Linked DNA regions of Homo sapiens: region 2 is linked to region 1. The links are contacts of gene promoters, found by promoter capture Hi-C in blood cells and fetal thymus (Javierre and others, 2016). All regions are on one chromosome and are shown on one strand. The core of a region is centred on a gene start or on the middle of the fragment in contact, and the rest is flanking DNA. Distances in the headings are between cores, read along the strand shown. Region 1 holds the start of MINDY3 (MINDY lysine 48 deubiquitinase 3). Region 2 overlaps CACNB2 (calcium voltage-gated channel auxiliary subunit beta 2).

Evidence for each region. The method cuts DNA at HindIII sites, captures the fragments that hold promoters and counts their contacts. A CHiCAGO score of 5 or more calls a contact.
Region 2: a contact is called between a fragment that was not itself captured here and the fragment with the promoter of MINDY3 in region 1, in 1 of 17 cell types (M2 macrophages). The highest score is 5.1, in M2 macrophages.

Annotation. Positions count from the first base shown.
Region 1 is chr10:15,857,339-15,863,315 of GRCh38, forward strand. It overlaps MINDY3 (MINDY lysine 48 deubiquitinase 3), which reads right to left and starts at 3,169. Exons shown (of 15, transcript NM_024948.4): 1 at 2,868-3,169. The coding sequence starts at 2,961. It overlaps LOC124902383 (a long non-coding RNA gene), which reads left to right. Exons shown (of 4, transcript XR_007062071.1): 4 at 585-1,462. RefSeq lists an enhancer at 2,911-2,960. The HindIII fragment of the contact is 10,196 bases long and covers 1-5,977 here.
Region 2 is chr10:18,202,818-18,208,794 of GRCh38, forward strand. All of the region lies in intron 2 of CACNB2 (calcium voltage-gated channel auxiliary subunit beta 2), which reads left to right. Among named protein-coding and RNA genes, the nearest start is that of CACNB2-AS2, 56 kb to the right of the region's middle. The HindIII fragment of the contact is 3,594 bases long and covers 1,227-4,820 here.

The DNA.
Region 1 (5,977 bases), core at 1,919-4,418:
CACCCCACCCAGAACTCTGTATTTCCTCATCTTCAAACTATTTATTGTACATGTGTAATTTATGCTACGTTATATTTACTGTTTGTCTTCCCTCCCACCCTACTGACTCTCAACTGTAAGAGCTTGGAATACTGGTGTAGTTTGTGGGAAGGGGGGAGGATAAATAGTGTTAATGAGCTAAGGAAGTGAAAATTATATGCTATTCTTTAAAAAGTACTATAGGCAATTGAGCAGGAGGAAAGCAGAGAGAAGAATAAATTTTCACGTTAAAATAAAACCCTGCCAACTTTAAGCCCTTAAATTACATGGCTTATTGCCTTTAAAATTAAAACTGCCCAAAAAAAGAAGAAGAAAAAAAACACCCCGCATTTTTTAAAACGAACAGGGATTTGTAGAAGAGAATTATCTAAAAATGTCAAGCCAATTAAAAACAACTATGTGCCACTCCTGCAGCTTATTGTTTTAACAACCATATCAAAAGAATTTAACTTGATCAATCAATATAATTTTATAGATGAAATATCTCTAGACATAATTGTATAAATATTCATGCCAAACATCTTACATCTGTATCTTGCTTCCAGAAAACTAATGAGACTGCAGTTGTCAACTGAAGACACGATCACAGACTATGAAATAAAGCCAGAGTTGATGTCACATTAGTAATGCAGCAAAGCAGTGTCTTGTGCCTGTTCCCACAATCCCAAAGGACTGCCACAGCAATATTTAGCAATGGCCTCAAAGAACAAACAAATGAATACAACAGTTAACATATCAAAACCAGTAACAGGACCCCTCTGATTCAGAGGCGATAACTTCAAAAATATATGTTTGGTTGCCTTAAAATCTTAATCAGTGTAAGGCCTTGAAGAGCTACATATCCAAAATATAACTAACTGCACCCTGTAAACGAAAAAAAGAAAGAAATCCTTTATTTTGAAATGGTACTGATGGAACTAATCCTGTTAAAGAATTTCTGCATGATTAAAGGTGGCAGAGCGTTCTAATAAGTCATTATAAAGTTCTATTTAGAATAATGATTAGCCATCAAATAAACAACTTATTGTAATTGTCAGGAAAAAGCCAAAGAGTGAATTTGGCATAGTCTACAATTAAACACTTTTTAAAATAATATAAAAACAGCTACCATATACTGAGTGTTCACTATACGTCAGATAGTGTGCTAAGCACCTAAATTATTTACATGGCCTCTAATCCTCACAATAACTCTGTAAGGTCTATTATCTGTACTTTACAGAGAAGGAAACTGAGGCTTAAATAAGCTAAATCACATGAACCTGAACCAAGTACATCTATTCCAGACTGTGCTCTTAACCATTACTAGAACTGCCACCCTGAATCTTCCTTGTATTTGCATTACAGTATAAATATAAACAGGGCTGAATATTATCTTATTCTACTTTGTAAAATGTTTAATAAATGTTAACTGATTACAATGGAAGTAAATTTTTTCTTAGTCTTTCACAGTATTTTAGAGCTGCTTACTATTAGAATAAGTAAGTCAAAGTGGGAAGTGTTAAAATAAAATCTCCCTCTAAGAAGCCCAAGATTAGGTAACTGACATAATTGAATGTGAAAAAAAAGAGCCCAAGTCATTACATGTAGGGTTTGGGAACTCAAAGGAAGATAATGAAAACAGAGGTATATTAGGAATCGAGAGACCTGGAATCCACTCCCAGTTCTATCGATTTGTGCAACTTTGGCCCAGTCATTTACCTTTACAACTAATTTTTTTCGCCTGCAAAGCAACAGTGAGGGACTAAATATCCCAACTTAACAATACATCGTAATTGTAATTTTACCAGCTCTTAAAACAAACATGTGGGAGGGAGGGAGAGATTACGTAAATCCTGAATTTTTGTTACAAAATACACGTTTTGAAATAGGGGTTTATATTTACTATGCCAAAATTCCGCCCAATCTATTTCGGGAACAGGTGTTCCCTAAATAGATGTTTTAATAATAATAGTGTTTTACATACATAAATTATTGATCCTTCTGACTCAAGGTTATGTTTTAACCTCATCATCATCTTTCCTAAGTCACCTTTAGGAATGTGTCAGTTGTTTGCCTATCCAAACTTAAGAATTAGGGATAGTTACTAGTATAAAGCGCCCAGCCTGTTACAGTGCAAGAATTCAATAAATGCTTATTTTATTTCATTATTATTTGTACTAAGACTCTTCATGTAAGTAAAAGTCCTGTCTGGGTTACAAGCATACCGGCCGAGGAAGTACTATGATCCATATTCCTTTTTTAACCGTGACAGATAATAAACCATATAAAAAACGGGGATACTTTGGGCCAAGAGTACACTTTTTAGCAAATAACAGTGTTTATACACAGACTACCACGCCTAACCACATAATGACAATACAAACAAAAAACTGCTTTTTGGAATTAGCCACTTGGACTTTCCCTTGGACGTCCCTCCTTCTCACCAAAAATAGACCAACCACCACCAATAGACAGCTCTGTTAGGGGGTAAAGATGCGGAAGGCCACAGCACCCCTTGAGAAAGTGACACCGGGGCACGGGGCGCATCTTCCGTGTCACGCCCTGCAACCCAGCAAGGGGCCACCCTCTCCTCCTCCCCAGCCGAAGGGCAGCCCGGAGGATGGAAAGAGCGCTGCGGGTATTTAGTGGCAGCTGTAACCATTCTCCTACTCAAACTCTCCCCACCAAGGCAAGGCAGGGCGTGTCTAGAAAGTCCAGCTTCAGCGCTGAGCACGGCGACTGGGGCAGAGAGCGGGGCACGCGAGGGGCTGGAGCGAGAGGCGTCACAGGCGGACTCTCGCAGGGCAAAAGAAGCAGCGGCTGCAAGTGTGAGAGCCCCGCCAGGGTACCTTGCGTCCAGCGGCAGAAAATGGTGTCCGAGAGACCGGGGCTGCTCTTGGTGCCCCACACCAGCTCCATCAGCTCTTTAGTCAGTTCGGACATGATGAGGAACCGGCGGGCGGATCTTCGCTTTGCGGACTCCTGCCCCGGAACATGGGGAAGGGGCAACTCCGGAAACAGCAGCTGCGGGACGGCGGCGGCAAACGAATTGGAAGGTGAGGCAGGAAAGAAGAAGGGGCTGAGAGCCACTTGCAGAGACCAAGCCTGTCAAGCCAGGTTGGGGCAGCAGCGAGTTTTCCGTACCGGAAGTGCTGGTGCCACTTCCGACTCCTCTTTAACTCCCGCCCCTTAAGGCTGAGGGCCCGGAAGTCCCCTCCCCGGAAGTGAAATTGGAGGCGGAAACAGGCACGGAAAGCGGTGGAAGTAGCTTCTGACCTTTCTGAACTGTCTGGGACCCTTTGGTGGGGTGGTAGTTTTTGTATTGGGAAGGGGCGTCGGCGTGTTTCTAAACTCCAGGAATACCTTCTTCCTCTACGCACTGCTCTGGGCTAAGCTGGAGGCTCTGAGGCCCAGGCACTAGGAATTAGAACATATGCCCATTGCTTGTATTTTTCAATATTAATTTTGCAAAACTAGAACTATAAGGCAATAGTTGAGTCACAGTGCGGTAACATCCGTGCCTTTGTAGGGCGCTTCTCATAAGCTGGAGGCTGTCCGCCTCTGTACTTCAATAAATCAAAGTCAGACCAACTATTACCTAAAAACATGGCAAAGAATGTGGCATAATGTGCATTAGAAATGCTTCCACCAGCTGCAACGCAGAATTACAAGGTATTTGTAGGGAAACAAATTCAGAGCAACCTGTTTGTAAATGTTACAGCATTTTCATCTCCAGTTTTTGACACTGCAGAGTGTGTGGGCAACACCTGGACTAAAGTTTAGGTTTTACTCATTAACTAGCAGTTAAATTGAGTTCATGTGAAAACTTATGTTTGTGCTGCTTAAAAAAAGAGGGCTTGTATTGCCCGAGCTTTGAATTTAAAACGAAAGGGCAAAATCTGATTTAAAAAAAAATACATGCTTTTATTTTGGTTCTGTAAGGTTTCTGTACTCCTTGGAAACCATATTACTTTGGGATGCAGTAATGCAATAGTTAAGAGGCCAAGCTGTGGGTCATACTGGCCCATATTCCTACCTTTTGCACTTACTAGCAAGTTACCTACTATCTACCTAGGCTTTTTTCTTTCTAAAAGGGAGATTGCATACATTTCATATATTGTAAGGAATAAATGGAAAAAGTAACACATACAAAGGATTTGGTGTACTTCCTAGCACATGGAAGGCATTTATGCAACAGTGGGTATTTTTTTTACCTCAAGAAGCCATTTTGTGGGAATTTGATGCAACAGTAGTTCTGACTTTTTTACCCATAAATTCTAGCCAGTTGTATTTTAGTATAATACGTTATGTTCTCTAATTTCAAAAACATGCAGTTTCATTGTAGAATACCCTTGCATTTGGCTAATTAAAATTAACCCTTAATTTAAAATCTTTTAGATTGCAAATAAGGTTTTGTTAATTTATGCTTTATTACTAGCTATTTTTTCCTATTTATACGTTATTTCTAATTTTATTTTAATTAATTTAATTTTATTTCTTCAGTACCCTTTACTGTAATTACAGGGACTTGCCCAAAGTGCCTGTAGTAGAGCCATAGCATTCCTTTTGATCTTTATTCCCTTTAGAATATCCCTTGCCTTGTTTTTGCAAATCAAATCTTACCTATCCTTCATGTCAGAGTGTGCATGCCAAACTTTCTCCAGTCATTACAATTGAAAGTAATAATTATAATTTCTGAGGCTTCATAGTACCTTATGTGTAACTTGCTTATGACAATTCCTATCATCATTGTATTTGCAAAGAGTTATTTGCTTTTCTCTTGGGATATAAATTTATGGAAGCAAAGAGCTGCCTATTCATAATTCTAGCATGGGGCCTTGAACATCACTGGATCTCAATAATTACGATTCCAAGGAACAAAACTTGCCTTTACTGGAAATAAAGAATTCATTATCTCTCAGCAAGTGAGAGATCGGGGAAGTAGTACTGACTGCTCCAGTTAAATATCTAATATTCGCATGCTGATTACAATTTACGTAATTCTTCCACTTCCTGAAAGACACAGAAGGGTCTATGTACATAGAGCTCATAACTGGCAGACTTCTAAGTTCAGAAGTGTTTCCACATTTGACTTTCTCCATTAATGTATGTAAATATTAATGGTGTAGTGTATATAACACTACATTTGTTTCCTTTACATTAATATAGATAGTAGTTATAAGTTTGATTACTTTGTTATGAAAAAACAAAAAATTGTACTTTCAAACTGTATTTTTTTAAACGAGAAATTTTTTGATCTATGATTTTTCTTAGTTTCCAGCTACAGTGATGCTGGCAAAATCCTGGATAGACATTTATATGAATGTCCTTTCCACTTCCACATTATATTTTTTTTTTTTTTTGAGATGGAGTTTCGCTCTTTTGCCCAGGCTGGAGTGCAGTGTCACCATCTTGGCTCACTGCAACCTCCACCTTCCAGTTTCAAGTGATTCTCCTGCCTCAGCCTCCTGAGTAGCTGGGATTACAGGCACCCGCCACCATGCCCGGCTAATTTTTGTATTTTTAGTGAGATGGGGTTTCACCATGTTGGCCAAGCTGGTCTTCGACTCCTGACCTCAGGTGATCCACCCACCTCAGCCTCCCAAAGTGCTGGGATTACAGGCGTGAGCCACCACATCTGGCCCACATTATAATTTTTATGTGTAATCTTTTAAATTTTTTAATTAGCAGGACATATCTTTAACAAGGAATATTTTACTTTTAAATTATTGGCTTAATTATTCATTAGGTATAACATTTAAATAGAAATTAATATTCATCAAAATTGTTCTTATTCAGTAATTATCTATAAATAAATATTTAAGTGAATCACGTTTTGCATCTATACCTGGTGCTGGATGAAAATGCCTTTCTCTTGTTATAATGACTTGGAAAATTATGTAAATGTTCTTTCATGTATTTATAACACTTCATATTTTAGCATATTGTTTTTCTCAGG
Region 2 (5,977 bases), core at 1,774-4,273, 2.3 Mb after region 1:
TTGTTTCAGGAAGCACATACTTTGTAATCTGTGACATTTTTATGCTGAAATTCCCTTTCTTGACATACAGACTGACACTGTATAATTCAGTCAGTTTCCTATTATCTCTGTTGTTAAGCAAGACTGGATTTTCATCACTGGGAAAGCTGTTAACAGAGTCCCCATTAAGCGAGCCATCACTGAACATTTTCCTTGATTGATGCTTTAAGATTCTGTCACTCACTCTTTGAAAATATCAGACTACAGGGTCTGAAGCAGGTTTCTGCAATATTCTGCAGTACCTCATGGGTACAAAAGAGACACAGGAATATGCCACAGCATCTAGATCCAATTCTTAGTGAAAATTTTGTTCTTTCATCTGTATTCTGGTCAGCCAGCTTGAAGTAGACACAGGCAGATGCTTGGAGAGTCGAAATTATAGCCGAATGATATCACAGAGTAGTTAAATACCAGCCAAGCTGTGGTTGCAGCATGGCAACTTTACAAGCCGGGCAGGTTAGCATGGATGCTGTGAAAAGTGACCCCTCTATCTGAAAAAGGGTTTTGTACCTTGGCTGGCATTAGTCACTTTTCCTTGTTTGATATTTACAGCTTTCTCTTGTCCTTTGTATCCTTTGGGTAACACACCGTGAGTGAGAGCAGAAAAGCTTTCCTTATAAAGGTAGCAATTTTATTCAAGATTAAAATGCTCTATTTTTCCACATTACATCAATGAGTACCTTCAAAAAAAGATGACTTAATGAGGGGGAAACATGAATAAATAAACACCCACACGTACATACATATGTATGTGTGTATATACATAGAGAAACATAACGGGGCGAGTGATCGTTGATTATTTTAGCGGAGGCTGTAGAGGGAACAACACAATTACATATATGGTAATGAAGAATGAACAAGTAATTGTGTTGTAATTTCCCTCTGCTTTTTGCTAGTGGTGACTGTTATGAAAAGCAGGTTGTTGGAATAAAAAAAAAGATACTAAATAAAGAACCGTAGTTCTTATAATAGCATTTTATAGTCTGTCTTTTGAAATATACTAAAATTTTTCACAATCCATGTTTCTCTGCTTTTGCCAATTGTGTTTGTGATTGTTCATTTGTGCATAGAAGTTTCAGTAGGAAAATACAGTCGTTTTTGTAAAGGTTGGATTTATAAGCTTCAATAAAAACAGGCTCATTCAAACAAAAAAGCAATCAGATTGCAAAATGGCAAATAAAAGAGGAAGCTTATCCTTATAGGAGAAAAAACGTTTAATTTTAACATTATGTTTAAATAGACAAAGAGACCTACTGCAGACTTTTAAAGTGTTCATTTTGCTTCCGTTGCTGCAGTTCAGCTTACAGATGGTCCCTACGATAGTTGCTATAGAAACCAAACCTTTTTCATCAATCTCTCCCTGTTGCTATGGTGTGTTTGCAGCCACTGCATGTAAACTTTTGTATAAAGTGTCATTTATGCTTTTCATGACTGACCTTATAATGAAACATATTGATTATACATTAACCAACAAAGTCTAGCATGAAATGACACATCACCACTAAACACCCGTTACTAAGTAGAATAGGTGGACCTAACATTATTTGTAGATGTGAATTGTGCCTTTGTTAACCAGGCTATTTGAAATATCAGTGGGATAAGGAAATCTTGCTCTAATTGACAAAAGCAGAATCTTTTATTTTCTTTCTTGAAAGTGATAGTTTTTCTTTTAAAATTTAGTTTCTTCAAAGTTAAACCTGTCATAGGATTCAAATTTCCTGCTTTGTAATTTTTGCTCTGACATTTTATGTGTGGCCTTAGGCCACAAAATCATTTAACCTCTGGATTTAGTGAGATAACAAAACTATGGCATGATAGATTTGGATGTGTTAAGCTCTGCGAGGGCAAGTACACTACCTGTTTTGTTTACCGTTATACATTCAGAACTTGGTGATATCCAGACAAACAGCCTAGAATACAGTAAACATTCAAAAGTACTTGTTGAGTAAATGAATATACATGTTATTGCTTCTGATCACATATGCATTCCATACTGTACTTTCTGTATAGAGTCAATTTCAAGAGTAGGCTTCATTTCATTTTAATGCCACAAATATTTAATGAGTTCCTACTAGTGGTAAAATGCTTCACTTCTTGCTGGATTCCTTAAACTTTACCAGAAAAAAAAAAAAAAAAAGGTCTGGCTTTCATGCCCAAGACTCTATATTCCAAACTCTCTAATGTTTATACATTTGTAGATGTCAAGTGTTTTTTGTTTTTGAGGGTTTTTAAAAAAAAATTCTTAAGATCTGTATCATTGAATAGAAATTTCCTGGACTTTCCTTTCAACATATGTTATTAACATGACAGTTATCTGTCCAGTGGTTAGAAGCATGGTCCTTTGAATCAGAAAGACTTGAGCATTAACTTACTACCTCTGCACTATTGGGAAGGTTACATCCCTTTGCTAGCCTCAGTTTTCTCATCCGTATAATGGGGACACTAATACCTAACTCATATAGTTATTGTGAGAATTGAATGGGATTTATAAAGTACTAAGCGCAGCAATTAGCCCAGCGAGCACTCGTAAATGGTAGCTGTTATTGTTGTCTATATATGCATAGAGGATGCGCATGACTAGTTTGTTGAACAGTCAAAAATCTGTGAATTTTACTATTTTTATTTCCATTCAATGCCTCTAACTGTGTGCCATGACAGCTCTTTCTTTTCCACTGGGTGAGCACATTTTCTTAATATTTGGTGTATTGTTTAATGTACCAGTCATTTTGGATTTAAACAACAAAATTCTATGCAGCTTAAAATTCCATTCACAAATATGAATGAAATCTGATCTCCATGACCTCCAAACCACACTTCTGAGTCTTAGAATTGGATGGGGTCCTTGGCCTGATCTTCAATTCTTTCTTCTATTCCAGCTTACTGGAGTGGAGAGAAGAGGGTAGTGTTTCAATGTTCCCTGCTCCTCATCAAAACCTAACTCCTCCAGTGATTTAGATCAGAAGTCAAGGAGGCAAAGAGTTTCTACAACCCATCAGAGACAGGAAGGCATCTTTGTTCTTGCTCCAATTTGCAAGGGTTCCATCTGTTGATGCTTACCTCTGTGGGGTGGGTCCAGGGAGAGAGAATCTACGGTTTTCAGTCTCCCCAGGCCCTCTCCATCTATGAGAATTTTTTTGTTTGTTTGTTTTGAGATGGAGTCTTGCTCTGTCACCCAGGGTAGAGTGCAGTGGTGCAATCTTGGCTCACTGCAATCTCCACCTCTCGGGTTCAAGTGATTCTCATGCCTCAGCCTCCCAAGTAGCTGGAACTACAGGCATGCACCACCATGGCTGCCCAGTTAATTTTTGCATTTTTAGTAGAGACAAGGTTTCGCTATGTTGGCCAGGCTTGTCTCAAACTCCTGACCTCAGGTGATTCACCCGCCTCAGCTTCCCAAAGTGCTGGGGACTACAGGCGTGAGCCACTGCGCATGGCCATCATCCATGAGGATTCTTAGAGACACATAGCTGTATCTCCTTTGTCTCCTGAAGGCAGTCCTCTTCCCTGACTTCCTCTCTCCAGATGGGGCATCCACTGCTCGGGCTATTGCCTGGGCATCCCTACTATGTCCACCTCATCCTCCCACCTGTGTATTGTGTCACATGGAGCCACAGAAACAGCAGCATTGTGCAGTCACTTCTTTCTCTCCCATTCCCCTCATGCTGTGCATGTTCCTTCTTTTCCCCGATGGGACCAACTGCTCCAGCCAGCCACTCTCTGGCTTTCAGACATGTCTAAGGAAATGTAGGAGCAAGACGCAGGCTGCGTCCATGTACTTCCCTCAAATTCCAGAAAGGGGCACATGCAGATTCTCACATGAACGTCCCAGTGTGCTCCAGTCCTCTCCAAAAAGCATGCTGGGGGGCGCAGTAGTGGTGCCTTCTGCACTGCAGCTTAGCAAGCAAAGTGGGGAGGGTAATGCCGGGCTCCATTTTTCGCTGGAAGGTGAAGTAAGACATGCCAGTGTAAGCATTAAGCCAACCAAAGTTTTAAGTCCACTGTTGGGGAGGGATTGGTGCAGTAGTTCCCAATTATCCATGGTTTTCTTTCAAGATTTCAGTTAATCGAGGTCAACTTGAGTACAGTACAATAAAATATTTTGAGGGAGAGACGACATTCACATAACATTTATTACAGTATATTGTTATAATTCTTCTATTTATTTATTTAGAGACAGAGTCTCACTCTGTCACCCAGGCTGGAGTGCTGTGGCATGATCTCAGCTCACTGCAACCTCTACCTCCCGGGTTCAAGTGATTCTCCTGCCTCAGCCTCCCTAGTAGCTCAGACTACAGGCGTGAGCCACCACACCTGACTAATTTTTGTAGTTTTGGTAGAGACAGGGTTTCACCATGTTGGCCAAGCTGGTCTTGAACTCTTGACCTCAGGTGATCCGCCTACCTCTGCCTCCCAAAATGCTGGGATTACAGGCATGACCTCCCAAAATGCTGGGATTACAGGCATGAGCCACTGCACCCAGCCAATAATTGTTCTATTTTATTTTTAGCTATTGTTAATCTCTTACTGTGTCTGACTTAGAAATTAAACTGTATCATAGGTGTGTATGTATAGGAAGAAACAGTATATCAGAACTATCCATGGTTTCAGGCATCCACCAGAGGTCTTGGAAGGCATCCCTCATGGATAAGGTGGGGTGGGGGAGAAACTATATATCTTAGTTAATAAGCATTACTAGAATGTTACAAAATATATTGAAGTTTGTAACATATAGAAATCATGTGTCACTTAAATCTGTAATGTAAACACCTGCAGTACTGCAAAGCTTAGAAAATTGCACACATTCATTTACCTTTTGACTAATTTTTGTTCTTTCTTTTCAAATATATTTAACATGTACATGGGCATGATGTATTATGTTGCATGTTGCATATCACATAGCAAAACTTTAGCTTCATTTGTTACTTAAGAACCATTATTATTAAAAGCATCATATTGTATACTATATATATAGTTTCTATTTGTCAATTTAAAAAATAGTTTACAAATAAGTAAAAAGAATCATCGTTATGAAAAAGGAGTTATCATTGTACCAGCAAAAAGGAGAGTGAATTAACAGTTTTGATGTAGAATTCTGCATAGTAGAAGTTGACATATGTATGCTTTGTATGTGCTGCTTTTAAAAAATCTCAAGTTTCTATTTAAACCCTGAATTTTAGAAACCTACGAATATTAGTTGCATCTTTCTTGTCAGAGGAACTATAAAAACACTTTAACACAAATGCTAAACCCTAAAACCCAAACAGGTAAATGAGCCCATGGACTGATAAGCCTTTAGCCATTTAGAAGGAGCTTCAAAAAGGCTGTTTTAGCTGGACACAGTGGCTCATGCCTGTAACCTCAGCACTTTGGGAGGCTGAGGCTGGAGGATGACTTGAGCTCAGGAGTTCAAGATCAGCCTGGGCAACACAGTGAGACCCTATCTGTACACACACAAAAAACTTTTTTTTAATTAGTGGAATGTAGTGATATGTGGCTGTTGTCCCAGCTACACTTGGCATGCTAAGGTGGAAGGATCGCTTGAGCCTGGGAGTTCGAGACCAGACTGGGCAACATAGTGAGACCCCATCTATACAAAAACTAAAAAATTAGTGGGGTGTGGTGGTGCACACCTGTGGTCCCAGCTACTTGGCAAGCTGAGGTGGGAGGATTGCTTGAGCCCAGGAGTTGGAGGCTGCAGTGAGCCATGATCGTGCCACTGCACTCTAGCCTGTGCAACAGAGTGAGACCCTGTCTCAAAAAAATAAAATAAAATAAAAAGATTGTTTTAAAATGAATCTGACGTTATTCCTCATTCCTTATTGCTTGTTCACCTTATTTGTTAAATTTTCAGACTGGAGCCCAGCCTGAAAAAGGACTGAAGTCCTTTTCTGTAGTCATCTCAGCTACTGGAAAGGCAACTCTTAAGCACACTGTTTTA